6 separate regions of the Homo sapiens genome follow, and regions 2, 3, 4, 5 and 6 are each linked to region 1. The links are contacts of gene promoters, found by promoter capture Hi-C in blood cells and fetal thymus (Javierre and others, 2016). All regions are on one chromosome and are shown on one strand. The core of a region is centred on a gene start or on the middle of the fragment in contact, and the rest is flanking DNA. Distances in the headings are between cores, read along the strand shown.

What was found. The method cuts DNA at HindIII sites, captures the fragments that hold promoters and counts their contacts. A CHiCAGO score of 5 or more calls a contact.
Region 2: a contact is called between a fragment that was not itself captured here and the fragment with the promoter of TOPBP1 in region 1, in 9 of 17 cell types (neutrophils, naive CD8 T cells, naive CD4 T cells and 6 more). The highest score is 7.7, in neutrophils.
Region 3: a fragment that was not itself captured here is called in contact with the fragment with the promoter of TOPBP1 in region 1 in 15 of 17 cell types (neutrophils, M2 macrophages, monocytes and 12 more); the score reaches 13.3 in neutrophils.
Region 4: a fragment that was not itself captured here is called in contact with the fragment with the promoter of TOPBP1 in region 1 in 12 of 17 cell types (neutrophils, monocytes, naive CD8 T cells and 9 more); the score reaches 11.7 in neutrophils.
Region 5: a contact is called between a fragment that was not itself captured here and the fragment with the promoter of TOPBP1 in region 1, in 1 of 17 cell types (megakaryocytes). The highest score is 5.5, in megakaryocytes.
Region 6: a fragment that was not itself captured here is called in contact with the fragment with the promoter of TOPBP1 in region 1 in 1 of 17 cell types (M2 macrophages); the score reaches 5.2 in M2 macrophages.

Annotation. Positions count from the first base shown.
Region 1 is chr3:133,659,097-133,663,964 of GRCh38, forward strand. It overlaps TOPBP1 (DNA topoisomerase II binding protein 1), which reads right to left and starts at 2,845. Exons shown (of 28, transcript NM_007027.4): 1 at 2,673-2,845; 2 at 1,948-2,038; 3 at 1-54. The coding sequence starts at 2,031. It overlaps LOC124909487, which reads left to right and starts at 2,130. Exons shown (of 3, transcript XM_047449438.1): 1 at 2,130-2,250; 2 at 2,417-2,937; 3 at 3,803-4,242. The coding sequence starts at 2,130. The coding sequence ends at 3,952. It also overlaps a transcript of TF not described here. RefSeq lists a silencer at 2,632-2,801 and an enhancer at 3,202-3,271. The HindIII fragment of the contact is 9,162 bases long and covers 1-2,971 here.
Region 2 is chr3:132,666,733-132,671,600 of GRCh38, forward strand. It overlaps UBA5 (ubiquitin like modifier activating enzyme 5), which reads left to right. Exons shown (of 12, transcript NM_024818.6): 4 at 2,086-2,195; 5 at 3,466-3,552; 6 at 4,233-4,317. All of the region lies in intron 26 of NPHP3-ACAD11 (NPHP3-ACAD11 readthrough (NMD candidate)), which reads right to left. Among named protein-coding and RNA genes, the nearest start is that of UBA5, 8.8 kb to the left of the region's middle. The HindIII fragment of the contact is 5,684 bases long and covers 542-4,868 here.
Region 3 is chr3:132,684,777-132,688,479 of GRCh38, forward strand. It overlaps NPHP3 (nephrocystin 3), which reads right to left. Exons shown (of 27, transcript NM_153240.5): 22 at 2,375-2,450; 23 at 1,484-1,611; 24 at 1-18. NPHP3-ACAD11 (NPHP3-ACAD11 readthrough (NMD candidate)) reads right to left here. Exons shown (of 45, transcript NR_037804.1): 21 at 2,375-2,450; 22 at 1,484-1,611; 23 at 1-18. Among named protein-coding and RNA genes, the nearest start is that of UBA5, 26 kb to the left of the region's middle. The HindIII fragment of the contact is 3,549 bases long and covers 1-3,315 here.
Region 4 is chr3:132,699,551-132,703,988 of GRCh38, forward strand. NPHP3 (nephrocystin 3) reads right to left here. Exons shown (of 27, transcript NM_153240.5): 10 at 1,880-1,983; 11 at 784-898; 12 at 368-511. NPHP3-ACAD11 (NPHP3-ACAD11 readthrough (NMD candidate)) reads right to left here. Exons shown (of 45, transcript NR_037804.1): 10 at 1,880-1,983; 11 at 784-898; 12 at 368-511. Among named protein-coding and RNA genes, the nearest start is that of NPHP3-AS1, 20 kb to the right of the region's middle. The HindIII fragment of the contact is 5,015 bases long and covers 459-4,438 here.
Region 5 is chr3:134,212,158-134,217,025 of GRCh38, forward strand. The region is part of intron 2 of RYK (receptor like tyrosine kinase); the gene reads right to left. Among named protein-coding and RNA genes, the nearest start is that of RYK, 36 kb to the right of the region's middle. The HindIII fragment of the contact is 5,038 bases long and covers 477-4,868 here.
Region 6 is chr3:134,178,032-134,182,899 of GRCh38, forward strand. It overlaps RYK (receptor like tyrosine kinase), which reads right to left. Exons shown (of 15, transcript NM_002958.4): 11 at 1-42. Among named protein-coding and RNA genes, the nearest start is that of RYK, 70 kb to the right of the region's middle. The HindIII fragment of the contact is 2,754 bases long and covers 1,077-3,830 here.

The DNA.
Region 1 (4,868 bases), core at 1,595-4,094:
CTCTTCTTCTGTAATAATCTGAAGATATTCTTCTGATTGGAATTCTTTTATGGACTGAAAGAAAAAATAAAATAAGAATGTACCTGAAATTACTCTCCTGTATTTAGGTCCTATTCAAATTCCATCTCAAATCCAGCCTTTTCCCTATTGAAAGCCACCATCACATCTCACTTAGACCTCTGCAGAAGGCTCCCAAGTGGTCTCTTTTTCCCTTCCTTGCCCTAAATCTGTTCTCTACACAGCAGCTAATAATCTTTTCAAAAACACAAGTCAGATCATGTCACTATCTGCTCAAAACCTAATGTCTTCACACCACACCCAGAATAAAATCCACATTTCTTACTACAGCCTTCAAGACAACACAGTCTGGTTTCCTGCCTATCTTTCCACCTTTACCTCCTACTTCTCATCTCTCTTGCTTATTCTATTCCAGCCACTCCCGCTTTCTTGCCAACCCTGGAACAAGCCAACCATAACCTCATTTAGAGGCTCTGCTCTTGATCTTGCAGCACAGAATACTTTTTTTCCAGGTTTTCACCTGACTTAATCCCCCACTTCAATCAGGTCTGCTTAAATGTCACCTCCCCAGAGATGCCCATCCTAATCAGGCTTTCTCAAATACCCTTCCTCTACCCTTCTAGTCTATTCTATTTAAAAATACGTATTTATATATATATATATAGTTTTTGTCTCTCTCCCCTGGAAGTTTCTATGTATCTTGTTTGCTACTATATCCTGACACCCAGTAAGCACTCAGAAATGTTCTGAACCAATTTTGAGGTCCTTATGTTAAATACAGTAATCCCTTTAAAACTGTAAGTCAGATCATGTTTACTCTTCTGATTATCAACCCTCCAATGGCTCTCCACTGAGAGAAAAATGGCCCACAAGGCCCTACATGACCTCTTTACCATTATTCTCTAACGCATTCCTTAGTACTCTTCCCCCATCCCTCACTCACTACACAACAGTACACTAAACTTGGATAGAGACTACAGGCACTTTCCCAGGGGCTGTATAAGGTTGCTCTCTCTGCCTGCAACATTCTTCTCCAGATATCTGCAAGGCTATCTCACCTCCTTCACGTTTACTCAATATCTTTTTCTTCATAAAGCCTACCCTGATCACACCCTATTTAAGATTATAACCCCCTTCTCTTCCCACCCCAAGAAACATCCTCTGGAACCCCTTAACGTGTTTTGCTTTTTTCTCTTCCTAATTTATCATGTCTGATTAGTGTCTATGTCCTCCTGCTAGAATGTAAGCTCTGAAAGAACAGAAATCTTTGCCTGTTCTCATCACTGATAAATCCCAAGTACTAGAGAAGTGCCTATCAAATCATGAACACTTCAATAAATACTTGCTGAATGAATGAAGTTTAAAAAAATCTGCTACAAATGCTTCTCAAACTTTAATGCACACTGAAGATCTTGTTAGAAATGCAGATTCTAAGTCTGGGTTGGAGGCCAAGATTCTGCATTTCGAAGAAACTTCCAGGCCATGCTGATACTGCTGGGTTCTGTGAGAAGCAAGGATCTACATCACCCCTACTATCATCCAATTATTATACTGTACATAATAAAACATAATTTTTAACAATTAACCAAAAAATTTTCAAGTATGACCAGTACACAACTGACTCAAATTTCTACAGCACGCAAAGGACCACTCTGGCTAGGAGACAAATGAAAGCAACTTAATTTCCAAGAACTGTAGGTCAGCCATATTAAACAGCAATGTGATAATAGACTTCCAGCCCCCCGAAATACATAATGATGTACTTAGATCAATTCAAAAATATGTGATAATGATATATCTGTATTAATGTAGACTATAAAATTATTATGAAAGTGAAATATCTACTTCTAAGACATAAAGCCCAACAAATCAAAAACACTTAAAAACAAGAAAATGAATTCACGGTATTAAGATGTTTTCAACTCTTACCTCGAGAGCTTTAAAAAAACATTTGGAATTGTCTGAAGACTTTAAAAACTTCACAAAAAACGGTTCTTTGTCATTTCTGGACATTTCTGAACTGTCAAAATAAAGGAACCATTAACAAGAACAAAACCACATTAGATAAAAAGTTGCATGTTTAACCTACCTATTTTTCTGTGCAGACAAGAATGCCTAAAGACAGACATTCTGGCTCTGCCCGTGAATTCGTCAACGGCATTTCTAAGAAATCCTGGAACTTGGACAAAGCCAAGGTAAAAGATGACAACACCAATCCTTGCAAATCAGACAGCAAAATTAACCCGAATTGAATACACTGAGGAAGGCCCTGCTATGAAGGCTCTAAGCCCTTTAGGCCAATGGACATTCAATTGCACTTGTTTTAAGGATACACAGAGTGTATCTGTCCCTGCGGATACCCACGGCCTGCGAGGTACGTTCATCCCTCAGTAAACAGATTTTAAATATAAACATGGAAGCCAGTTAGCATGGTCTTGGCCCTGCATAAGGCTAGATGCTCCGGTTCCCATCTCCAGGAAAAGGCCTGGCTCTGGGATCACGGAAGCCACGTCCTCTCGGCGTCAAAGGCCCACCCGCCGGCTCCAGGGCCAGTTACCAGGACAGGAAAAGAGGGTCCTGAAGGCCACAGAAGGCATCGCGAACCCCAGTTGGGGCTGGGGAGGAGCTGTGTCCCCACTCCGCGCCTCACTTACCTCGTTGGAGCCTCGGGGTCTCCGGGCGGCGAGTCGGGGGACGCGCTGGCCGCAGGGCGGTGGCTGGGGTCGGGCGCCAGCCCGGCGCACAGCCCCCTCCCCCGACTCGGCGCCGCCCCTACCCCAAAGCAAACGCTGGAGAACCCGGAAATTGCCCAGAACGGGAACCGACTTTCGCGCCAACCGCGCGGCCGCGCTTGCCTTTTCCGGTGGAAGTGACGCCATCGGCAGCTGCAGCAGAAGAGCGGAAATGTCAAACGTGGAGGTGAGCAGTCTGTGGGCGGTGGGGCTTCAGGGAAAGCTTGGGCCGGACCCTTTGGGTTTAGGGCTTTGCTGGGCGGGCCTAGTCTCCGCTGCGAGTAGGCCCAGCGCCGTCGGTTCAAGAGGTAGGACCACAGGCCAGGAATACTCCTTTACTGTTAAAAAAGCCAGGGAAAGAAAGGATTTCCTCAATAGATATTTATTTTACACCTGTCTTATACCAGGCATGCACGGGAAAAGGTATTATCCAAAACAATTCCGTGAGGCAAATAGTGGTAGTTCCATTTTGTAGATGTAAAAACGGAGGAAGTTAAATGATGGGTTCAAGGGCACACGGCTAGTAGGTGGTAGAATTAATACTGCATCCAGGTCTTCTGACTACGGACTGGGTGGTTTCCCTCCAACACAGCAGGAATAGAATCACCGCCTAACACAGCCACAAGATGGCAAGGGAAGAAAGGATGACTTATTACACAGCTAATGCAAAGGGATCTTTGTCAAGATCTTCAATGGTCTCCCCTCCTCCTCCCCTTCAGTGGACATCGCCGTTCTCTTTCTCTGCATCTGCCTCAGTACTGGGGAGATTCTGGGACTGAACCTAAGATTCAGATGGCAGAGAGCAAAGGGAGAGGGGATAAGATGGGCCTGCAAACCTTAGTGATAACCAGCGGAAAACTGATTCGTTGTTGCTTCTTTTCATTTTATTCTTTTTTAAAAAAATTTTTTCTTATTTTATAAAATCTAGCCACTATACTAATGAGGATCATTTTATTATTCACTGCTGAGATTGAGAAAATGACTTTGGATTTACTAATGTAAAAGTATAATGCCATGTCCCTTGATTGTTTTTGTTTTTCTTTTCTTTTTAGAGCCTAAAGATAGTAATGAGCAGCTTGAGTCTTAAGTTTTTGAATACACCGATGGAAGGTGACAAAGATTCTTTGCTTGGCCAAACTTTAGTCAGACTCCTCAACCTTCTCGTAGGTTTATCTGTGCATTTCCTTGGAAAATCCAGTTAGAACCCTCTACCCTCAATATCTGATCAGGTTCCTCATCCTCTACCATCCAAGGTGATGTCTGATCACCTTGACCTATTTTCAGCAAGAAACCCCTTTACTCCTGAAGTTCCTTCTTAGTAATTTTTTATCCAGTGACCCCAAGCTTTTTGTTCCTTGGCTATAAATTCCCACTTGCCCATGGTGTATTTAGAGTTGAGCCCACTCTCTCTCTCCTAATTCAGAATCCCATTGCCATGGTTGCTATACCTATCCTGATGGTCCGGAATAAAATCTGTCTTACTGTGCTTTAATAAATATCATTAATTTTTTTTTTTTTTTTTTTTTACCAGAAATGAGTCAGAATCAATTAACACTGGGGCTCAAAGGTAAAGGCCTATTGCTGGGGGAAGGGTGAAGAAAGCCTTAAAAGCAAAAAAACAAAAATCACTAGAGGTGGGAAAAAAAAGAAACCACAGTTAATTGTTAAGGTGCAAATCTGACCTGAATCTGTAATAACAATTAATATTTCTAGGGCACTTTACAGTTAACATGGGACTCCTGCTCACACTATTCCCGTTTACTCTTTTCAGCAACCCTATAATAGATGGGTATCATTGTCTCATGTTATGGAGATGGGGAAAGTGAAGTTCAGGGACTGTGTCACTTGCCCGTGCCTTTCCTGACACACCACACTGCTCCTGGGCACGTGCTGTCTGCCCATCTCTGTGTGAAGTTCCACACCGGGGAGGGAGCCCATTCCTGGCATTTCTGGGCCAAGTAGAGACCTCACAAGAGAAGGAGATTCATAGATGCTGCTAATGAAGATGAAGAAAATGCACCCTTTAGCTTTTACCCAGCCGGAACTTGATACCAGAGGAGTGACCTGTCTTTAGAGTAAGAGTTCACCACTAGGGGGCAAGTTCTCCCATCTTGTGTC
Region 2 (4,868 bases), core at 2,134-4,633, 990 kb before region 1:
ATTCTTAAAAGAAGGTGATTTCAAAATTGGCACTCACTTATCAATATAGAAATAACACCACCAAAATACTAAAAATATTTATTGAAATTTTAATACCTTTCAAAAGATTTACAAAACCTGGACAAAAATTGCTTATAGCTGACTTAAGCACCCTGACTGCTTGACCAGGGATAATAGAGATTATTGAGATTAGTGGCTCTCAAGTTTGAGTATGTTATCACAATTAGTTGGAAGCCTTATTAAAGCACAGATTAACAGATCCTACTCTGGTGGTTTTGATTTTTATAGGTGTCAGGTGGACTTCATAATTGACATTGCTAACAAGCTCCCAGGTGATCCTGATGCTGATGTTGCTAGGATTACACCAGTAAGAACCACTGGATCCTTGCTCTACTCCAAGTCTAGTCCCTGAAGTAGTAACATCAGTATCAGCTCTCAATACCTACCTCAGACATACTGAATCAGAATGTGTATTTTAACACAATCCCCAAATGATTCATTTGCATATTAAAGTTGGAGAAGTGCTCTTGCATCTCTAACAAGCTTCAGGTGATGCTAATGCAGCTAGACCACGCCATTTTGAGTAGCAAAGAGGTAGAACAGTAGTTATATATTGCTGTAGTTAGAATCACCTGGGAAGTTTTAAAAAATTCTGGTGTCCAGACTGCACCCCATAATAAGTGTCTCTGGGGATGAGGCACAAACATCTGTATTTTTAAAAATTCTCCAAGTGATTCCAGTGTGCCCTCAAGTTTGTAAACTGAGAATCTACACAGGTAAGTTTCAGGAAGTCTTTCTTTAATTTGTAAAACAGATAAATACGAAGTGAATTAATGAGGTTAAATAGGAAAGTAGAAGATGTTAGGAAACCCAGAGTCCATTTCTTATCCCTGAAAGCCTTTGGATCTCTTTAAAGTATCTGGGGTGCCTTGGATCACCAGATCTATATTCGCTGCTTTATTTTAGAGATGAAGATACAGGCCTAAAAAGTGAAAGTGATTTACCCACAATCAGAGCTAATTAGTGGCAGAGTTACAGCTCAGACCTTCTGTTCCCAAGTTTAATGTTTCCCGCAACTTATGTATAAACAAGCTATGAGGCAGAAACTCATTTAATACTTGGCCTGACCTAATAAATATTGATGAGCTTAAAGAAACTATGTTTTGGAGACTCTTACGTAGGATTAGAAAATTTTGGAGAGTGTGAGATCTTTTCTAGTATTAAGGGCTATCTAGGTGTTATGGGTTAGGTTAATTTTTTTTCTTTTTAGTTTTTTATTGAAAAGAAAATCCCATTTTTGTTTTTATTGTTTAGTGTGCTGAGAATTGTATTAAAGAGTCACAGAATTTCATATGAAGAAGGGACAGGAAGTCCTTGGCTCTAGCCTGTTCTTACTGATAAGAAATGTGATCTAATGGCCATTTTAGTGTGTGTGTGTGTGTGTGTGTGTGTGTGTGTGTGTGTGACAAATGCTTTTTGAAACAGGCTTAAGTGTATAGCAGGAAACAACAATTAACTGGTTTGTAATTCTATTTGGAATAATGTTTTAGCCATGTCACTGGTATATATTTTGTCATATACACAAAAGGAGTCAGGTTATACTATATTTTAAGTTACAGCACTTGTTTTCATCTTATTTAAAGATTTCATTTATCCAATGGATTCCTGGCTTTTAGCAAAAAAATGGAAATGAAGTAGGATTTTGCCACAGATTTAAAAAATGGAATGAAAGGGAATTAATCTTAATTTCTGAGTAAATTATTTAGAGAGGCAGCACAGCATTGTGGTTGAGGTGCAGATGCTGGATTGAGAATGCTTGAATTTGAATCCCATTTTCACTTCATATTAGATGAGTGGCCTTTGGACAAGTGTTGTAGTTGCCTCATTTTAAAAATAAGGATAATAGTACCTACATGCCTCACATGAGCATTCAATGAATTAATATATGGCACCTAGTGTTGTAGAGTTAGCTAATATTATTATCAAACTGCTAAACTAATTAAATGTAAAGCTCTCTAATTTATTTTTTGATATGTTTAGTTTTTTGGTATGTTTTTCATCAGAATACCACTATTTTCATTTTAGTTGCTACTCTTTGATTATGACAAGGTGGAACTAGCCAATATGAATAGACTTTTCTTCCAACCTCATCAAGCAGGATTAAGTAAAGTTCAAGCAGCAGAACATACTCTGAGGTAAATGGAATAGCAATCAAGTACCATATTCAGTGAAATCTTACTTTATGTATTTGATATGAGTTAATATAAATGAATCTTAATTTTTCTCTATAAAATGCAGTTTTCACTTGTACAAAGAATTCTCTTACCTGTTGGACATGGGTTGGCAAACTTTTTATGTATAGGTTAGATAATAAATATTTTAGTCTTTGAGGGCCAGATATTCTGTTGGAACTGTTAGTTGCAGTTTGATAGCAGCTGTAGGCAAAACAAACATGAATGAGCATGTCTGTGCTCCAAGAAAATTCTATTTTTGGACTCTGAAATTTGAATTTCATACAATTTTTAATTTTTTTAATTAAAAAATAAAATTTTTTTGAGACAGTCTCACTCTGTCACCCAGATTGGAGTGTAGTGACACAATCTCGGCTCACTGCACCTCCGCCTCCCGGGCTCAAGCTATCTTCGCATCTCAGCCTCCTGAGTAGCTAGGACTACAGGCACGTGCCACCATGCCTGGCTAATGTTTTGCATTTTTAGCAGAGATGGGGTTTTGCCACATTGCCCAGGCTGGTCTCAAACTCTTGGGACTCAAGCCATCTGCCCACCTAGCCCTCCCAAAGTGCTAGCATTGCAGGCATGAGTCACTGTTCCTGGCTGATAAAATTTTTATAGTCATAAATGTTCTTTTGATTTCTTTTCCCAACCACTTAAAAATGAAAAAAAATTCTTAGTCTGAAGGCTGCACAAAAACAGGTGGTGGGCCAGATTTGGCCCATGGGCCACAGTTCACCAATCCCTGCTTTAGGAATTTCCTTTGTGGCCCCAAATTTGTTAACTGAGTAAGGAAGTGAGGCTGAGTTGTAGGTAGTTACTGGACATGGTTAAGTCTTAATTCCCAACACTTAGATTGATTGGGGTGGGAACAGTTTTGTAATCTTTATGACAAAAATGAACCTAGTCCTTGAAGTGTGAGATAAAAGAGACAGAAAAGGACTTTGGGTTTTCTTTGAATAGCTTGAATTCGCTTCTCTAAGGTATGTTAAATGCCCTTTAGCTCTTTCATCTCTTTTCCTCACAGTTTTTTCTTACTACAGCTACTAGTAGTAGTCTTTTTAAAAACATTTTTTTAGAGACAGGGTCTCACTCTGTCCCCCAGGTTGGGGTGCAGTGGGTGCGATGATAGCTCGCTGTAGCCTTGAACTCCTGGACTCAAGTAATCCTCCCACCACAGCCTCTTGAAATGCTAGGATTACAGGCTTATAATCATTCCCTTTTTCCTTCTTAGGAACATTAATCCTGATGTTCTTTTTGAAGTACACAACTATAATATAACCACAGTGGAAAACTTTCAACATTTCATGGATAGAATAAGGTAAAATTTTAATTTATGAATATTTTGTATAATGTCCAGCTCAAGTATTAGAAAATTATTAGAAAAATCTATGGATTAATCCAATGAATGGAAGATTGATATATATTTTTCCATTTTTTTAGTACAGCAATTTTTGTGTAATTTTTATGTATTAGAATATCATTTAAAGGTATATATTGTCCAAAAACAATTAAAAATAAAAAGCAAACAAGCAAAAAACCCCTGTAAGTTACAATATAAGAAGAGAATGTCAACTTTAAGTTCTGTGTTCTAGATTATATTTCTGTCTGAAAATGGTTTTCTTCAGAGACTGTCAGACCACCACTGAAATAATGAGTTGCATTCAATTAGCTTTTATTACATTTGTAATGAAGCATGAATAAAAATGTGAAAGCTGGTAGTGAAAAAATAACTGTTGTGAACATACTTTATACTTCCTTCACCCTTGTAGTTCTTGTAAAATAAGTAATACTACAATGATACTGTAGTATCATTGATGTTATATTCATAAGTTACTCAATACTTGATATATATGATATCTTTAATATTACATATTTATTATGTAATAATTATAGTCAAACATTTAATGAAAGAATAAGTGTTGGACTGAACAAGTAAGTATAATGTATTAGAGTGTATTTTGTGTCCTGATGTTTTTCAAACTTATTTTCTTTGACTAGTAATGGTGGGTTAGAAGAAGGAAAACCTGTTGATCTAGTTCTTAGCTGTGTGGACAATTTTGAAGCTCGAATGACAATAAATACAGTGAGTATTCCTGCTGTGCAAGATATATTCATGGATTTATCTGTTTTCCTGTATATTCTATCAGTATATAATCCCCATCCTAAAAACAGTTCTGAATGTAAACCCTTTTCTGTGTTTTATTTGTAATGTTCTCTTAGCCTACTCTTAAAATCTATTCTAATAGCTGTGGGACCTAGACTGTCTAGCCTTGCTGCTGTGACATGTGTTACAGTATCCTACTCTTTTTGCTGGTAAACTATAAAACAGCAAATACCTCTGATGTATAATTCTTAAATTAGTATCTTATAATCTTGGTCAGCATTAGTTTTAGCTTTTGTTATTTTATAAATGTATAAATATGTATAAATTGCCTGAAAACCTGGTTTCTCAAAAAAAAATTATTTTCCTTTTGAATATTGTTTTTAACTTTTCAGATGATATTTTGGCATTTTTTTTGTTCCTGCAATGATTTTAGAAAAGTGAAATTTCACATTAATTTGACAAGAAATCCAATAAACTTTGATTCAATTTAATAATATTTACTGACTGCGTCTTGAATACTGTCACTCTAC
Region 3 (3,703 bases), core at 291-2,790, 980 kb before region 1:
AGAAACTGGTCAGCTGTTCTGTGAACACAATCCCAAAATGGCTTAAACTATCTATTTTCTAGAGTTTGGAATCCTGACCCCTAAATTAAGTGGAGAACTGACTCATCTTTATTCTTAGATTCTAGTTAAAATAAGAGATTCAGCTCAAAATCTTACTTTCCCCCTCTTCCCCACCCCTATCTCTTCCTGCCCTTTTCCTGACAGTTTGAGGGCCTAAAATGTGTGGATGATTGCCTCAATTCTCCACTTCTGAAAGAAAAACTGATAGATATTTTCCAAAACAAACTTTTATACTTTAAAAATTATTAGACCTAGGTCCAATAAAAGATTTTTGTATTCACTCTTCCTCCCTTTGGAGTTAGTACTAAATAATTTTTATTTCTTTATTTTGTTTTTTTGTATGTGTGCGTGTGTGTAACCTTGAACTCCTAGGCTCAAGTGATCCTCCCACCTTAGCCTCTCAAGTAGCTGGGTCTACAGGTGTGTACCACCATGTCTGGCTAATTTATTAATTTTTTTTGTAGAGACAGGGTCTCACTATGTTGCCCAGGCTGGTCTTGAATTCCTGGCTTCAAGTGATCCTAATGCCTCAGCCTCCTAAAGCTCTGGGATTACAGGCATGAGCTATCATGCCCAGCCAGTACTAAATAATTTTTAACAAAAGAATAAATCATTATTTTTTATATAAGTTTCTGTAAGTGGGCTACAGATTTATTATACTTTTCTGACATCCAAAGTTTCAAATTTGTTATATTTTTCTGATATATGAAGTCCAAAAATACTTTTTATAACATATAAATATAAATGTCATTTTGAATCCTTTTGCCCAAATAAACTGACAAAACTAGAAACCGTCTACATTATTTACCATTAGTCCCAAGCTGCTGCTTCTGTGAGATCTTATGCACAATATCTACACAAACTCACTTTTCATAAATATATAAAATACACCAGGGAAGCTACAGAATAACTTTTCAGTTAAGAAACAATGTGGGCCAGGCGTGGTGGCTCACGCCTGTAATCCTAGCACTTTGGGAAGCCAAGGCGGGCAGATCACGAGGTCAGGAGATCGAGACCATCCTGGCTAACACAGTGAAACCCTGTCTCTACTAAAAATGCAAAAAATTAGTCGGGCGTGGTGGCATGCGCCTGTAGTCCCAGTTACTCAGGAGGCTGAGGCAGGAGAATAGCTTGAATGGGAGGTGGAGGTTGCAGTGAGCCGAGATCACACCACTGCACTCCAGCCTGGGCAACAGAGCGAGACTCCGTCTCAAAAAAAAAAAAAAGAGTGTGAAAAGAAACACAGTAGAGAAAATGCCATGGTCTTTAGGTATGTGTATGCTCATTATATAACATCATACATGAAATTTTGCGTGGTTTTTATCATTTTTTTTCTAGCTTTAGACTTGACAAAAATGTAAAACAGCATTGCATCAAAGAGAAAATGGTTAATTATTTTCATTATTAACCCCATGGTACTCACTCCAGGTTATTTTGAAGATAGTAGAGAACACCCAGTTCATTGAGGGTCCGAGCATTATCAGGTGTGTCCTTACCTAATGTAAGCTCTTCTAACTGTAAAGCCCGTCTACGTAAAAGGGCAAATCCGTACTGCAGCAAACATGAAAAATGAAAAGCAATCACTAAGTAGGTGCAATCCTTGATTCTGAAACAATATATGAGGGTCCTAAAAAATCTTCCTTTTTTCCCATTTAATCTAGATAACTATTATTTTAAGCATCACACTAAATTAACTTGATGATTACAAATACAAATATTTCCACATGGCAACACATTCTAAAATTCATTAAAAACTATTTCATGAAAATGATTATATTTTAGAAAGTAAACTATATCTCAAAGTGCTTCAAGAAATAATAGAATATAATTAATTTGCAGATATTTATCAACCCCATAGGTAAACACATAAACATCAGGTCCATAAAAATGCACACAGCATTTTAAATTAAAGAAATATGCTACATTTAGATTTTATCAGCAACTTAAAAAAATTAAAATAACTTTTATTGTGTATTTGAGGGGAAGGCTTTCTTCACATTTGAACATAACACAAAATGTTAACTAAATTTATTTTATTCCTTTTTCCAACCCTTTAAAGAACTGAGGTAGCTTTAAATTCCGTCTTTCAAAATCTAACCTTCAAATGAATTTAGAGTTCCACTTTTTAAAGTCTAAATTGTACTTCTCAGTAATATGATATTTTAACACATAAATAAGAAAATGTTAAGTAGTTCTCTTCTAAAAAACTAGAAGATTTTAAAATCTAAAGCTCTTAAACATGTGGGGTGTATGCATTTATGATGCTCTTTTCCTCTTACGTTCAAAACACAACACAAAAGAAATCTCTCCTTACCAAGTTGCCTTTTTTCTTTATAGCTTTCTGATGAATTTTAAAGGATTTTTTCCTAAAATGTTCAGCTTGTTCATATCTTAAAAAAAAATTACAGTAAGTCAAACAAAAGAAACATATTCAAAGTATACTTCAGTGAAATGAAAGCACTCTTTTCATAGTGTAAAGTCTTTTTGGGCTATTAAATACAGCATTTTTTCTAGAAATGATAGTCATGACATTAAGAATCTCTAAAAACCCTTTCATAAAACAAAATATGACAAAACACTAAGATATCTTAGTCTATCATGGATGTTTTTCTAATAAAAAGTTCTGTTCAATTAAAAAAATTTTGACAAAACAAAGCAAGTCTAGTCCTTTAAGTAGCTGACATCTGATCATCTTTAACTAATTTAACTCATCCTAAGTCTCTGAAGGGCAACCTAACTAAATGAAAAGTCAAAATTTCAGTTTTCTATAGCACACTAATAATTTTTAATTAACAACTTTTTCTGCACAGGCTAATTTCTGGTCAAGTTTAAATGTGAAATTCACACAAAATTTGTACGAAGCAATACTTCTATAAGTTAAAAAATTCCATTATGTATCACTTATGATAGAGCAAAAGAAATAATTTTTAATAGAGGAAGAGATGCCATTCATTGGGTGCCTGATAGATAAGAAAGACTTTTTATTATACCAGAGATTGGCTTTTTCTATAACGGGCTAGAGAGTTAATATTTTAGGCTTTGTGGGCCGTGTGCTTTCTGTTCCAAGTGAGGAACTCCGCCACTGAAGCACAGAAGCAACCATGGATAATATATACATGAAAAAAATTTGGCTGTGTTCCCTTTAAACCTTATTTACACAACTGGACTTGGCCTATGGGCAATGGTTTGCTGGCCCCATAAAGGTTGAACATCCCTAATCTGAAAACCCAAATTCTGAAATGCTCCAAAATCAGAAGCTTTTTGAGTGCTGTCATGATGCCACAAGTGGAAAATTCTGCACCTGACCTCAAGTGATGGGTCAACTCAAGCCACAGTCAAAACTGTGTTTTATGCACAAATTAAAACTAGTACACAAAATTACTTTCAGGCTATGTGTATAAGGTGTATATGAAAAATACATTTCATGTTTAGACTTGGGTCCCATCCCCAAGATATCTCATTATATATATGCAAATATTCTGAAATCTGAACAAATCCAAAATCCTGAACATTTCTGGTTCCACATTTGGATAAAGGATACTAAACCTATATTAGTAAAGCACTCAAAGTTAGTCAGTGAATGAGCCAGGATTCAAACCCAAGACTATATGACTCGAAAGTCCATGTTCTATCCTTCATGCAT
Region 4 (4,438 bases), core at 1,716-4,215, 960 kb before region 1:
TTATTAAGGATAAAAATCTTATTTTGGGGTGATTTATTTTAGAATTTTAAAAGAACAAGTAGCAAAACATTATTATCACCAATCTGAACTCTGGACACGTCAGGAAATGTCAAGGCCCTAAAAATATGTCAGAACGAATAGTCTTTGTTAATTGTGTAAATTCAGTTGGTCTTTCTTAATAAGATATTAGTGTCTGTGGGCATACGATATATTTTTTTAATCCATGTTACCTCCCTAGAAATAAAGCAGAAATATAAAAAATAACATCATATTTTCTTCTCACAAACATATAAATGCCTGCTCTAGCTATTACTGAATTTACATCTCTTTCTGAGCATATCAATAGGTAACAAATGGAAAACGGTACCTGAACTTGATCTATAGAATCAATAACGATGATGATGCTGCCTTGATGACGAGCAGAGAGTTTTTCCAGCCAACGTGGAAATTCTTCCAGAAGCTTAGCAGGATCCAGTGTCAGAGCAGAGACTGACCAAGAGTGCTGCATCAACTACAAGATAAGAACACACACAAACTGAAGTAGTTACACGTAGTTACTGAAGTAGTTACAGAGCTGGGGGAAATATTTCTATTCTTACTTTTTTATAAACCAAAATCAAGTCACCAAGAGGACCCGATTGTATCGAATATTATTTTTAACCTTATATAAAACCAAAACAGGTGGATAATACTGAAAATTGGTTTACCAGTAGGTACTTATTAGTCCCAACAATTTCTGAATCTAAATAAAATTCTGTAATTCCAAAAGATGGGATACTATACCTTTAGAGTTAGTCGTTTAATAATCAAGGAGGACTCTGAGCTGGTTGACATGGGCCTTCCCACAAAATGGGAAAGAATCAGTGTGTTGGGGGAATTCTTCTGTTGTAATTGAATCCTGAAAGAAAAAGACAGAACTTTTATAAAACCGATAAAGTTCCTTGACTGTCAATAAAAAAAGAATTCACAATGCAGTAAACATCAAATGTTGCCTAACTGAGCAATCAGGTGGTCAGTTACTTTTAAATAAATATGGAGATTTCTGTTTTTACTCCACTTTTAGATCCTTCTAAATAATCTTTTAAAAAATTGTAGATTCATTTTAATTACAAATAGATGTTAATTAACAGAAACCAAAGTACTTTACATATGAGGGTAAGGTATTAGTAAAACAAGCATTAACTTTTAATTAAAAATTCCTACTAGAGGAAAATTTGTTAGATACAAAAATATTATTTTCCAAACATAACTTTAAATAAAAGGGTAATAAAAAGGAGACAACTACATATGCTAACCCTTCAATATAAATAATTATGAAAGAAAGAAAATATTTTTACTGCTTGTTTTTAAATAACATAATGAAATAATAAAGTTTATTAGCTTATATGAACCTTAGTCCATAATTTGAAGAACTAGATTGCATTCATGGTGAAGATTATCCTTAATTTTGATGTTCTGTAGAATGTATTTCACTCTAACTAGTATGCTTTTGTCGTTTCAAATATTTAAAGTATCAATGAAACTTTTAAATAAAGGCAATAATTACAAATAAAGGCACATTACAATCCACTTAATAACATGTGTTATATGACATATCACATATGATCACTTCCTTACAAAGCACTCCCATAGCTGTTACTTATGTGATTTATATACATAATCATAAATGTTCATGCTTCCTATTCCTTTCTCATTCTGTGTCTTCTCTCTAACATCCAAATTCTATGCATTTCAGGGCATGAACCTATTGTTTTATTCCTTTTTACTTTGTTAATGTTTAGTGTAGGCCGCGCAGGAAGGCAGGCATGCAATACATTTTGTTGAATAGATTCAGTAATTCAAACAATGACAACAATAATTTAATTGCACTGCATCATACCACTTTGATAAAAGAAGAGACTTCCCAGAACCTGGTCCTCCAGACACGAGAAGAGGTGGAATCGGGGCTGGTGCTGCCACTAGATCATTAAGGCGTTGGTAATACTAGAAAAAAAAATGAATTTACATTGTAAGGAAGCACATGCCTCTGAGACTACTGAAGAGTCAACTTCTGATTATTCTTTGAAAATACTGGAGAAAAGCTGTGTGAGAAAATGAAATCTATTTTTAGTGACAGCACCCTCATAATTGCCTACTTTTATGGCTGGCAAAAACATGACTGAACTAGTAAACTAAGAATGGGCCTCAAATGGCTGGGCGCGGTGGCTCACGCCTGTAATCCCAGCACTTTGGGAGGCTGAGGCGGGTGGATCATGAGGTCAGGAGATCGAGAACATCCTGGCTAACACGGTGAAATCCTGTCTCTACTAAAAATACAAAAACAAAATTAGCCGAGCGTGGTGGCGGGCGCCTGTAGTCCCAGCTACTCAGGAGGCTGAGGCAAGAGAATGGCGTGAACCCGGGAGGTGGAGCTTGCAGTGAGCCGAGACAGTGCCACCGCACTCCAGCCTGGGCGACAGAGCAAGACTCCGTCTCAAAACAAACAAACAAACAAACAAACAAAAAATGGGCCCCAATTTCTTCTACATGTAGTATTGCTGTAAATTAATGGGTAAAGGACAACATTTCAGGTCCCTGTGGGGTTTTGCAACACTCAAATGTTTGCAGAATGTTTCAGGGAGCTCACTGTAGCCCCCAAATCACAGAAAATACTGCAGAAGACCTTGAAGGTACTAGCAGACCACCTAGATCTCCTGGTCAGAGGAATAAACACCTGTCCTGGGAATCACCTCAGTTTCTGGGGGTGAGAAAAGGTCCAAATAACAGCAGGTTTTGTCTGGGGACTTGGAGTCTCCCAATCTGCTCAAGACAATCAGGTTAGCCTAGGCTGCCTGAGATCTTTTTGAAACTAAGTGAGTTCAGTGTAAAGTCCAAGAATTCCTATTTCCCAAGTTTTCCCCAGAAACTCAAAACTGGTTCAAAGCTAAAAAGGACACACTCAAAAACCAAAATATCTTAGTACTTATTAAGGAGTTTCAAAAATTATCTTGAGACTTGACTTTTTCTTCAGTGTACCAGTGGTCTAAATGATAGCTGATGAGGAATTTAAAAAAGTGTATAGTAAGTAGTTTGCAGCCAGCTTTAGGCTTGCTTTAGAATAACACAATTCTCCAGCAACTATAATGAATTACTTGGTATAGTTTTTCAATCAATTTTTCTACTTGTTATATTTAATTAACAAGCAGAAAAATTATATCTCTAAAGAATATATTCCCCAGGAACTCAAATAATTCAAATAGAAATGATACTTCTGAAGGAGAAAAGAAAGTCTTGATTTACTACCTCATAAGTCCTAACAACTTAGTTCATGGTCCCACAGAAAGCCCATTTATAGGATCCATGCTTCCCAGGTTAAGACCCATGGCTATAAAAGAAAAACCATAGGATCTGGAGCCAGAAAAGAACGAGGTTCAACTCCCAGATCTGCAATCTACTCACTGTGTACTCTTAGGCAAACCCTAATCTGAACCTCAGTTTCTTTATTTATAAAATAACAATAGCAATACTTCTCATAAAATAACGACTAACATTTATCATGGGCCAGGTACTGTGCTAAGCACTTTATGTGCATTATCTGATTTAATCCTTGCAACAAGTACCTATGAGGTAGGTACTATTAGTTATTCTCATTTTACAGCCAAGAAAGTCAAAGTTTAGAGTGGCCAAGTAACTTGAAGAAATCTAGTTAGTAAATGATGGAACCAGGACATTAACGGACAGTCTAAATTCAAAAAGTTCTGTAAAAATACAACTGTTAATATTAGCTACTATAGTATTCTTTAAAATATTAGTTCTTACATTAATTTTTAACTATTATATTTTTTTAACTTGCACATAGATTTCATTGTATATTTCAAGTTCTGATAATTTGTTTAGATATTTAAGGATGTTGATAAGACTGATAAAGAAGGACTTATCTGCCTATTTCATGAACTACTATGCTTTGTTTTCTGAATGTAATATTTTGATTCAAGAATTGGAAGAACAGAGAGACTTACTATTCTTTTTTTTCTTTTCTTTCTTTCTTTCTTTTTTTTTTTTTTTTTAAAGACAGGGTCTTGCTCTGTTACCCAGGCTGGAGGGCAGGGGTGTGGTCATGGCTCACTGCAGCCCTGACCTCCTGTGCTCAATTGATCCTCCCACCTCAGCCTCCCAAGTAGCTGGGATTACAGGTGCATACCACCATGCCTGGTAAACTTTTGTATTTTTTGTAAAAACAAGGTTTTGCCATGTTGCTCAGGCTAGTTTCAAACTCCTGGGCTTAAAGCAATCTGCTTGTCTCAGCCTCCCAAAGTGTTGAGATTACATGCGTGAGCCACTGCACCTGGCCTCAGCCTTACTATCCTTATCAAGTTTCCTAGCTATCCTAATCCTGGTCTGAGTGAGTTGCAGATGGTAGCATAATAAACATGTGGTTGATAAATTCTAGTCCATAACT
Region 5 (4,868 bases), core at 1,746-4,245, 550 kb after region 1:
ATTTGACCTCTGGATCTACTTCTTAAGTGATTCAGAATCCAGAAGGGAAGACAGGCAACCCATGAGATGTCTCTAAAACACCAATGTTATCTATCAATACTTGGCCTACCCAATGTGGCTTAACAGAACCAATCAGCATCAATAATTAAGGCTCTGTTGCTATGGAGAGTTCATGAAAGAAGCAGCTCAAACTGCAAAGCAATAGCTGAAATTCAGAATGGCTGCCAGCATCAAGACTTTCAATGAAGCCCTACAGTTCACATCACTCTCTGCCCTGCCCACAGGTTCTTGATAACTATGGTATCCCTCTCTCATTCAGTGGTCACAAAAGGTATCATTGGTGGCAGACTGAGATTTGCAGAGCCACGAGGCAGCAGGTTGGGAAAAGAGTGAGAAGAAAGATGTTCGATAAACCATTCTTCAAGAAACTTAACTAGAAGAATGGGAGACAGATGGTGAAGTGGGGGGTGTTCCAAAGCTTTTCTTTGTTTTTAGATGAGATATTCAAATATGTATATATGCTAGTGAAAAAAGCTAACGAAATGGTACATAATAAAGATGAAAGAAAAGAGGGAAAGAGTATCATCCCAGATATAAGGGAAGGGATGGCCCTTACGCTTGGGCTAAGGTGGAAGGCGTTGTTACCCATGAATAAGAAGGGCTCAGTCCAGAATTTGATTCCCCTTGGGGTTTCTCCTTTCACACTCTATTTAAAGTGTCTTAGCTAAACACTGTAGGGGTATGCAAACATTAAACTCTTCCTTTGCAGTTAAGATAGGTACGTAAACAACTGTTAAAGGCTGTGTTTGATAAGTGCCACATTCCCAACAAAGGAAATGTTCTTGCTGCAGCACATCAGTGACTTCGAGGTACCTTGGCTAGGAAGTGTTCACATTCACCTTAGCATATCACAATACCATTGCTGCCACCAGGGGGTGCTAGAGAGCCACAGCCAAGCAAGTTTGGGCAGGGAATGAGCAAGCTCTCCAGCAATACATCAAAGAATGCATTATACATCCCTACACCGATGCTATCTCTGAACAGGACCATACATGAAGGGTAGGTGCACAAAAGAAATCAGCACCGCCAGCAAGAACTGGGTTTGGAACCATGAGACCATGTGACTCTTAGGTAAATTTGTAACTTCTCTGAGTTTCCATATTTTGTAAAATAAGGGTAATACATGTTATGAGGATCAAATAAGATCATTAATGCAATACATACTGTTAGCCTGGCACAAGTCTCCTCTGACATCAGCAGCATCAGCAGTCATTCCAGAACAGCTACCTTATTGCCATGCTGCACTTCTCCATAATCATCAGCCCACTGCTGGCCCCAGGGATTCTGACACAAACCCTCCTGGGTCTGTCAAGAACACTGTTGCAGGCCTTCTGTTTTTTCCCCATTCTGAGAACCTCCCTATTCAGAACAGCCTCCTACACTCTCTGCCTCTTCACAAATGTCTTCCCACCTTCTCCCACAACCTGGCTTTCCTCAGAAGTCATCTGTTCCCCTTCCTATCATTCAGTTCCTACAACACCTGACCCTCAGGGCCTAGACAGTAGGGTCGGCACTCTTTAGGATCACTAGGTCCTTCCCAGACATCCCTTCCTCATGCCCTCATGCAAATCCCCTCTACTTTGAAGTTTATAACTTCTTTTTTTGAGACCGAGTCTCACTCTGTCACCCAGGCTGGAGTGCAGTGGCGTGATATCGGCTCGCTGCAACCTCCACCTCCTGGGTTCAAGCGATTCTCCTGCCTCAGCCTCCCGAGTAGCTGGTGGGACTACAGGCACACGCCACTATGCCCAGCTAATTTTTGTATTTTTAGTAGAGACGAGATTTCACCATGTTGGCCAGGATGGTCTCGAACTCCTGGCCCCAAGTGATCCACCTGTCTTGGCCTCCCACATTGCTGAGATTACAGGTGTGAGCCACCGCGCCCGGCCGAAGCTCACAGCTTCTACTCATAATGGCTACTTCTCATGCCATCAACACCAATAAGCCACACAGGACTTGCAGAGGCCTTGGTCTCCTGCCATGTTCTCCCTGGCTTCAATATTCAGTATTCAATATCCTGACACGCTAAAGAATTACTTCACTACCAAAACAAATGCAAAAATGCCATTCTATCAAAGATCCCATCACCACCTCTGATTCCTACAAAACTAGTTCTCTGATTCCATCACTCCAAGTCAGCCAACATTTATGAGGCACATTTATGAGCCAGGTGCTGTGTTCATAGCAGGATGCAGCAGCCAGTTAAAGCCACTTCCCTTCTCTCCAGTATAGCCGTGAACACCTAGTTTCATGTTCTCCACAGCCCAAGCCCTAAAGAAGGCAACATTACTGACAGTCATATTGGCACCTTCAGCTGGTTGACTCCTTCCAAACCCTCAAAGGGCAGCTCTAGCATCCTGACCACCCCTTCTTACTCTACTCCTGCTGCTCAGCACTGCTGAAGGAAATCCATCCTACAGAAAAGGAGCTCTTACACAACAATGACCTCCAGTCTCAGGGGAGGCCCTTAGTTCTACTCAGCAATCCCTTCCTCACTGACCCTCTTTTCCCTCGTCTTATTCCAACCTTACAGGCCTTCCCCACCTCCTCACACTCAATGTTTTTGTCCCTTTCCACTAGTACAGAGGAACCCCATTTCTGCCTTTCTTTTCAACACCCCGGCAGATCTATTAGAGCATCTATTCTTTTCATTCTAGTCCCAAGGAAAGGTCCATTTTCCTCTCCAAATGTAAATCCTTCAATCCTAGTACACTAGGGTTCTAGCCCATTTCACCACTGATGGGATATCTTAATCGTCAATTTCTCTCACTCTCTTTTACCTTCAATCCCTCTCAAGTGTCCAATTACCTACTAGGCAATTCTATCTAATTATCCTACAGCCTTCCAACTTAACAAATTCAAAGCCACACTTACTATTTCCCCAGAAACTTGCTGTCTCCTTTATTCTAGGTCTCAGTTATCACAAGGAGAGAAGGAGCAGACCAGAGACCAGAACCCCAAAGTAAGCAGAGAGGGCCTGGCAAAGGGGTCCAGGGCCATAACTGCAGTTAAAAAAGCAGCTAAGACTGGCGCCTGAGCATCTCAGTGTGGCAAGGTGAAAAGGAGGAGAGAAGGGAAGGAAATGAGGCTGTGAGTGTAGCTGGCCAATGAGGGCACAGGGAGAGGTGCAAAGGGCTGAGGAGGAGATTTGAGAAGGCAGCCCCTTTGGTCCTATCAGCAGCTTAGAGGAATATGAAGCATGAAACTGTGGAAGCCTCCTTGCTGGCTCCTTTTTTGAGGAACTGTCTAAAAATGGGAGGCATTCACAAGGTAGTTCTCTTTTCCCTCTGCAGTCTTTAAGATATAAATTTTAAAACTGCAGTTTCTGGGATTAGAGAAGAAATTGCCAATTATTGAAGTCCAATTTTCTCTAGTTTGGCATGTATCGATCTGTAAGGACTCTCACTTGCCAATCATCCTTTAAAGAAACAGATCTGCTCAAAAGTTAAATGTACAGTCTACTGGGACAAAGAAATTTGAACAGCAGTTGTTTATCAGAATGTAGAGTGAGCCAAAATACTTCAGAAAAGAAACTACAGGCTAGGCGTGGTGGCTCACACCTGTAATCCCAGCATTCTGGGAGGTCAATGCAGGTGGATCACTTGAGGCCAGGAGTTCAAGACCAGCCTGGCCAACACGGTAAAACCCCGTCTCTACTAAAAATACAAAAATTAGGTGGGCATGGTGGTGGGCACATGCTACTCGGCTACTCGGAGGCTAAGGCAGGAGAATCACTTGAACCTGGGGGGCGGAGGATGTAGTGAGCCAAGATCGCACCACTGCACGCCAGTGTGGGTGACAGAGTGAGACTCAGTCTCAAAAAAAAAAAGAAAAAGAAAAAGAAAATAAAAGGAAAGGAAAAAAAAAGAAACAAATTACCAAAAATATCAACATTTGAATAAACTGAAAAATAAACATTTTTGCTTATGTTCCCTTACTTGGAAACAAATGGCAATTACAAATAGGAAGCTGGTAAGTAAAGCCATTTCCTTCTGGAACACAGAGAGTACAGATTTAAAGTGAATACACTTGTCTACAGCCAAATAGCCTTTTAATTTCTCTGAACTTACTAGAAGTAATGCCTTTCTCATAGAAACCTCACTCTGCAAAGGACACAGCTGCTGGCCTCCAGCAGTGCCTGCTGGAACTCTGGACAAGTTCCCTGCAACTCCTAGAAAATGATGACGAATTCCTGAAAGCACAGAACAGCCATGGGGTAAGGGTGGGTAGTGGGAATATTCTGCTACATTCTGGCAAATTTTCGCTTTTCAGATATCTAAAATAGCTACTGACGGCCAGGCGCGGTGGCTCATGCCTGTAATGCCAGCACTTTGGGAGGCTGAGGCGGGTGGATCACGATGTGAGGAAATTGAGACCATCCTGGCTAACACAGTGAAACCCTGTCTCTACTAAAAATACAAAAAACTTAGCTGGGCATGGTAGCGGGCGCCTGTTGACCCAGCTATTCAGGAGGCTGAGGCAGGAGAATGGTGTGAACCCAGGAGGTGGAGGTTGCAGTGAGCAGAGAAAGCGCCACTGCACTCCAGCCTGGGCGACAGAGTGAGACTCTGTCTCAAAAAAAAAAAAAAAAAAAAAAAAAAAAAGCTACTGACACTTAACAGACACAGTTACATGTTTCTCCTGGATATTGGGGAATGTTCTGGAATACAGAAGAAACTATCTGTTAAAGCCTCTCAGTAGCCTGCTTTTAAGTGTGTGGTCTTGTGAAAAAGAAGCAATACCAGAGTTCTACTCCCAACTCAAAATGCAATTAACACAATGGTCTTTCCTGACCACTCACTAAGGCA
Region 6 (4,868 bases), core at 1,204-3,703, 520 kb after region 1:
TCTCCTTCTTCTATACACACATGAGTAATAGGAAGAAGATTTCTATAAAATAATAAAAAATTGGGAGAAAGACAAAGGAATCCAAAATGTTAGGGGCTTACTTCTAATAAAAATAATCTAAAACAAAACAAAATCCCCAAAATACTTAAAAACATGATTACCATTAAAAATGTAAAATTATAAGTGTTCTGTATTTTAAACCAGACTTAAGTGTCCCCTATATATGTGCATATATCCCCATATATGCACATTCTTGGTAGGGAAAAATCATAAACTCAAAGTTGCTTCCTGTGGGCTGGATTCTCTGAAGGCACACTCTAACCACACTATATCTTTACTCCAAAGGGCAATTAATCAGAGACATCTAAAAACTGACTTGCCCATGAGTGTATTATGATAACAATATCCCACTTACTCCATTATCACACATGAAAAAAAAAAAAGGCCCAATCCAGACGGTGGTCAAGAATATGATCATCAAAAAAGGTCTCTAAAAGGCTGAAACTGCCACAAAAGCCAAAAAGTTCTTAGCTGGTCACACTGGATTTAGAATCAGATTTTTGAATCCTAGATTTACCAATTACTATCAGAGTGACCATCTTCTCTTGGCTTTGGTTTCCATTCTTATAACATAGGGACCCCACCAACCATAAAAGGTTGCTGTGATGTGCAAAATAAAACCAAGCATGTAGTGGACAATCCCGTTCCTATTTTAATTTCTATGGCATACATACATACATTTCATCCTACTGTCTAATAACACCTCCTCCACTGACATCTGGAAATAACTGCTAATTTTTCCCAAGGTTATGTAACTTTTTACATAATTATATCATCTTCCCCACTAAGCTAAAAATTGCTAGAAGACAAAAACTAAGGTAAACTCAATTTTTATACCCAACACTTCGTAATCTATGCTATATAAAACAAACATTTAATAACAAATAACAGTAACAAATAGCCTTAAAACATTCCTACTCCTTAACTTGGCAAATCCTGCTTCTAAGGATGTTTAATAAGGAAAGAATAACAGGATAATAAGTCACAATTGGTCACAATATGAGAATATAAGTAAAAGCTTATCTTACAAGAAAGTAAGATAAAAAATTCCCATTTGCAAGATAATTATAAAAATGGAGAAAAATAATAAAGGTCTGCATGGAAATATGCAAAGAGTTAAGAGTTGTCTTTAAGTTGTAAGACTATAGATAATTTCAGCTTTGTTTTCTGTATTTCCTAAAAATTGTCTTAATTGAGCATGTATCACTTTTTAAACCCCAGTTATAAAACCGTGGCACAATCACCAATGCACAAGTGGCAAAGCTGTGCGCTCCCCTCATATTTGCAGGAGTTACTAACATGGAAAGCACTGACCCTGAGGAGGTGGGAAAATGAGGACTTAAAGATCAGTAAACCTCTAAGAGGCAACCTCTCTATAACCGCTCAAGTGGCAGCGATTAGGAGTTCCACTTTATATGCAAGGAAATCCACGCTGGGAGAGAAAGTTTAGGTAACCTGCCAAGGACAAAGAGCAAGTACACGGAGAAAAATATCAGATCTTCATCTGATTCAATACCCTTTGCATTCCCCTGGACCACTAGACTTTCTCTCCAGAGGAGCAAGGGAGATCACATGGGAGATTACAGAGCTTCCTTTCCACCAACTCCCATGAATACTAAAATGACTACAGGTTTACACTAAGGATTAACTTGGGCATACCATTAAACACTGTTGCCCAATCTATTTAACTCACCAAAGATTACTTCTGTTTCTTTCTTTGTGACTGAAATTCATTTAGCAGAGTTAAAGACATTTTATCCATTAGGTTTGCTGGGTGAAGTCAAATCTTTTATTCCACTACCACAGGATTAAAAATCCACTGGTAGAGCTAACAAACTTCATGAAAATGTTTCAAAGTACAAATGGCTGTTTTTCATTCTGCCCATCTTGTAATGAAAAGGAGGATGAAGGGGAAGGTCTGGATCTCTAAGAAGAGTGAATGAAAGCAGGAGATGCTATAGTGAAGAAAGAAGGTACAGGAAGGGTAGGTTCTGTGGGGCTTGGCACAAGAACTGCCTCTAATTCTCAGTCTTGTTGAGGGCGTTTGCAGAGGGAGAGCTGTGAGCCATTTGGCATAAGAAGTGTTCACCATCAGGCATCTTTGGGCCAATGAAGGGGCCAAACTACAAGCAGAAATAGCGCAAGAGTACTTTGATGTGAAGCACTTCTAATGAAATTAAAATAGGTTAATATCTTTTATGTATACAGCTATTTTAACTTTTAATAAAATTATTTTCATAAATTCCAGTGGAAAAATGTGTGAAAAGAAAGGATTTCAAAATGCTTTAAAACACTTCAATACGCGTACAATCCGTAACCATGGATGTTAAAACATGAAGCAAACATGCTGTATTACATACCACAAGGTAAAATCTAAAAACAGGTGTCTTTTCTTGCTGAATAAATTCTATATTCTGTTGCTTGATAAATTCTATAATACGATCTCTGAAGATCATTTCATTTTCATTCTGCCTAACACAGTTCCAAGTGCAAAATGGGTACTGAATGAATTAGAATAAAAGAATGAACAAACAAATACATAAGTATAGCTATGAACAGTCTATACATATTAAGGATCAAAACAAAATGTGTGATAGGCCCTGGTCACCTTAAAAATGAAATGAACTGCTACAATGAATGGAAAGAATAATATACTTTCTACATGCTGACAATGTGTTTTATTCATTGTAACTAGGACTCCTGCTATCACCTCATAGAAGGAAGAACAATTAAGCATAATCAAGCTATAACCTACCTTTACAAGACTTTCCTCAAGGACTGAATGCTCAGTATCAAATAACCCCAATTTAGTATGTAATGTCATTCAATTCCCTAAGGACCTCCTGAGACTGCTAATTCATCCTGATGGGATGCTGCAAAACCTTACAATCTAAAACTGCATGAGACACAACACTGCAAATGCTTGCTCTGAGCATTTTTCAGCCAAGACATCTTTAAGGCTACAGTGAATATAAAACCGTTTCTTGGGAAAATCCTGGCTTTGTCTACATTTATCCCTGCTACTCACTTCTGTGCTGAAGTGATGCAAACCTTTCACTGGGGTAAGAACATTGGCTAGGTATCTAAGTAATAGGTTAACATTATATACTAGGATTAAACACCTTTGGCCCTTCTCCCTAGAGTCAGTGTAATAGACCATTAAGCACTTTCAACACTGCCAAAAAGGACAATATTCCAACTGTTTCTTTCCCTTCTGCTACTGAGATTATCAACTTTTAGTGTTTCCTTCACCCTTGGTTGCCGAGAAGCTAGGAGGTGTTTTATGTTCAGTCACAGTAAAAATATTTGTTCTCCTTACTGCTGGCTCATTTGTTTTCTTTTTTACCACCACAATGCCAAAAAACTCAGTTTCTTTTTCATTACCATTTTATTTATCTTACTGTGGCTGCCTTCTTTTTAGGTCCTCAAATCCTTCTGAATATGAACCAAAATATAACTAAATTTAAAAGTAAGGCTCTGGGTAGTCACCTTATTTTTCAGCAGAACTCAAGGAACTGTCTAAAGTATACAGAAACTATATTTTTTCAGAAGCCTATAAACATCTTCCAACAGAGATAACCACAGTTCTTTTTTTAAACATATGTGATCAAATTTTCAGTAGACATACAAATTATGTTGACTCTATATAGTGCTTTAAAAAAATTTGCTCTAATGTTGATACTGTCACACATTATGATGTTACATTTAAGCTGCTTCTGGCTCAAAAGGTAGAAGTTTTTGTTACAGTTCTGTGAACAGGACCAATACCAAGCTTTTAAAAAAGGTCTTCATGGCCGGGCACAGTGGCTCATGCCTGTAATCCCAGCACTTTGGGAGGCCGAGGTGGGCAGATCATGAGGTCAGGAGATCGAGACCATCGTGGCTAACACGGTGAAACCCTGTCTCTACTAAAAATAGAAAAAATTAGCCAGGCGTGCCTATAGTCCCAGCTACTCAGGAGGCTGAGGTAGGAGAATGGCGTGAACCAGGGAGGCAGAGCTTGCAGTGAGCCAAGATCACACCACTGCACTCTAGCCTGGGTGACAGAGCGAGACTCTGTCTCCAAAAAAAAAAAAAAGGTCTTCATATAGAACTATAAGTAGTTTTTAAAAATCATGCTATGGCATAATGATTGTATACCAGAAATTAGTTAAATAAAATGTGGTACATCCATTCAGTGGACTACTATGTAGCCTTTTTAAATGGCTACATGGATTTACAGTTGCCAATATCAAAAGTCAGATACATTGTTTCATTAAATTAAGAAGCATGTTAACTTTGTCAAAGACAACAGTGATATTATGATTATAAAGAAAACTATCTTCTTTTTATTGAAAATACATGCTGGACATGCACTAAAAGTACTGAGATGTCTAATTTATTATAAAATAGTTATATACACAAATATATAGATACCTGTATCTAGAGATATGTCTCTAGATACAGATGGATAAATACACAAACATACACAACACAGAAAATATGGCAAAATGTTAACTATTACTGCATCTAGAAGGAAGATTTATTCATGTTTATTATACTTGACTTTGAGGTCCTATACGTTCAAAAATCTCATAACAAATATTTTTTAACATATGTAAACCATCATCCTATTTTTTAAAGGGAAATGTGCACATAAATATGTATAAATTATTTCTGGAAAGATCAGCTAGATTAGCTATGATTATCCAGATGTGGGCTTACATACTATTCTTTGTTTTCTTTTATACTTTACTGTGTTTGTAAGTTTTGTGCAATGAGAATGCATTTCACTTTTATATTCAGAAAAAAAAATTAAGCTATTCCAC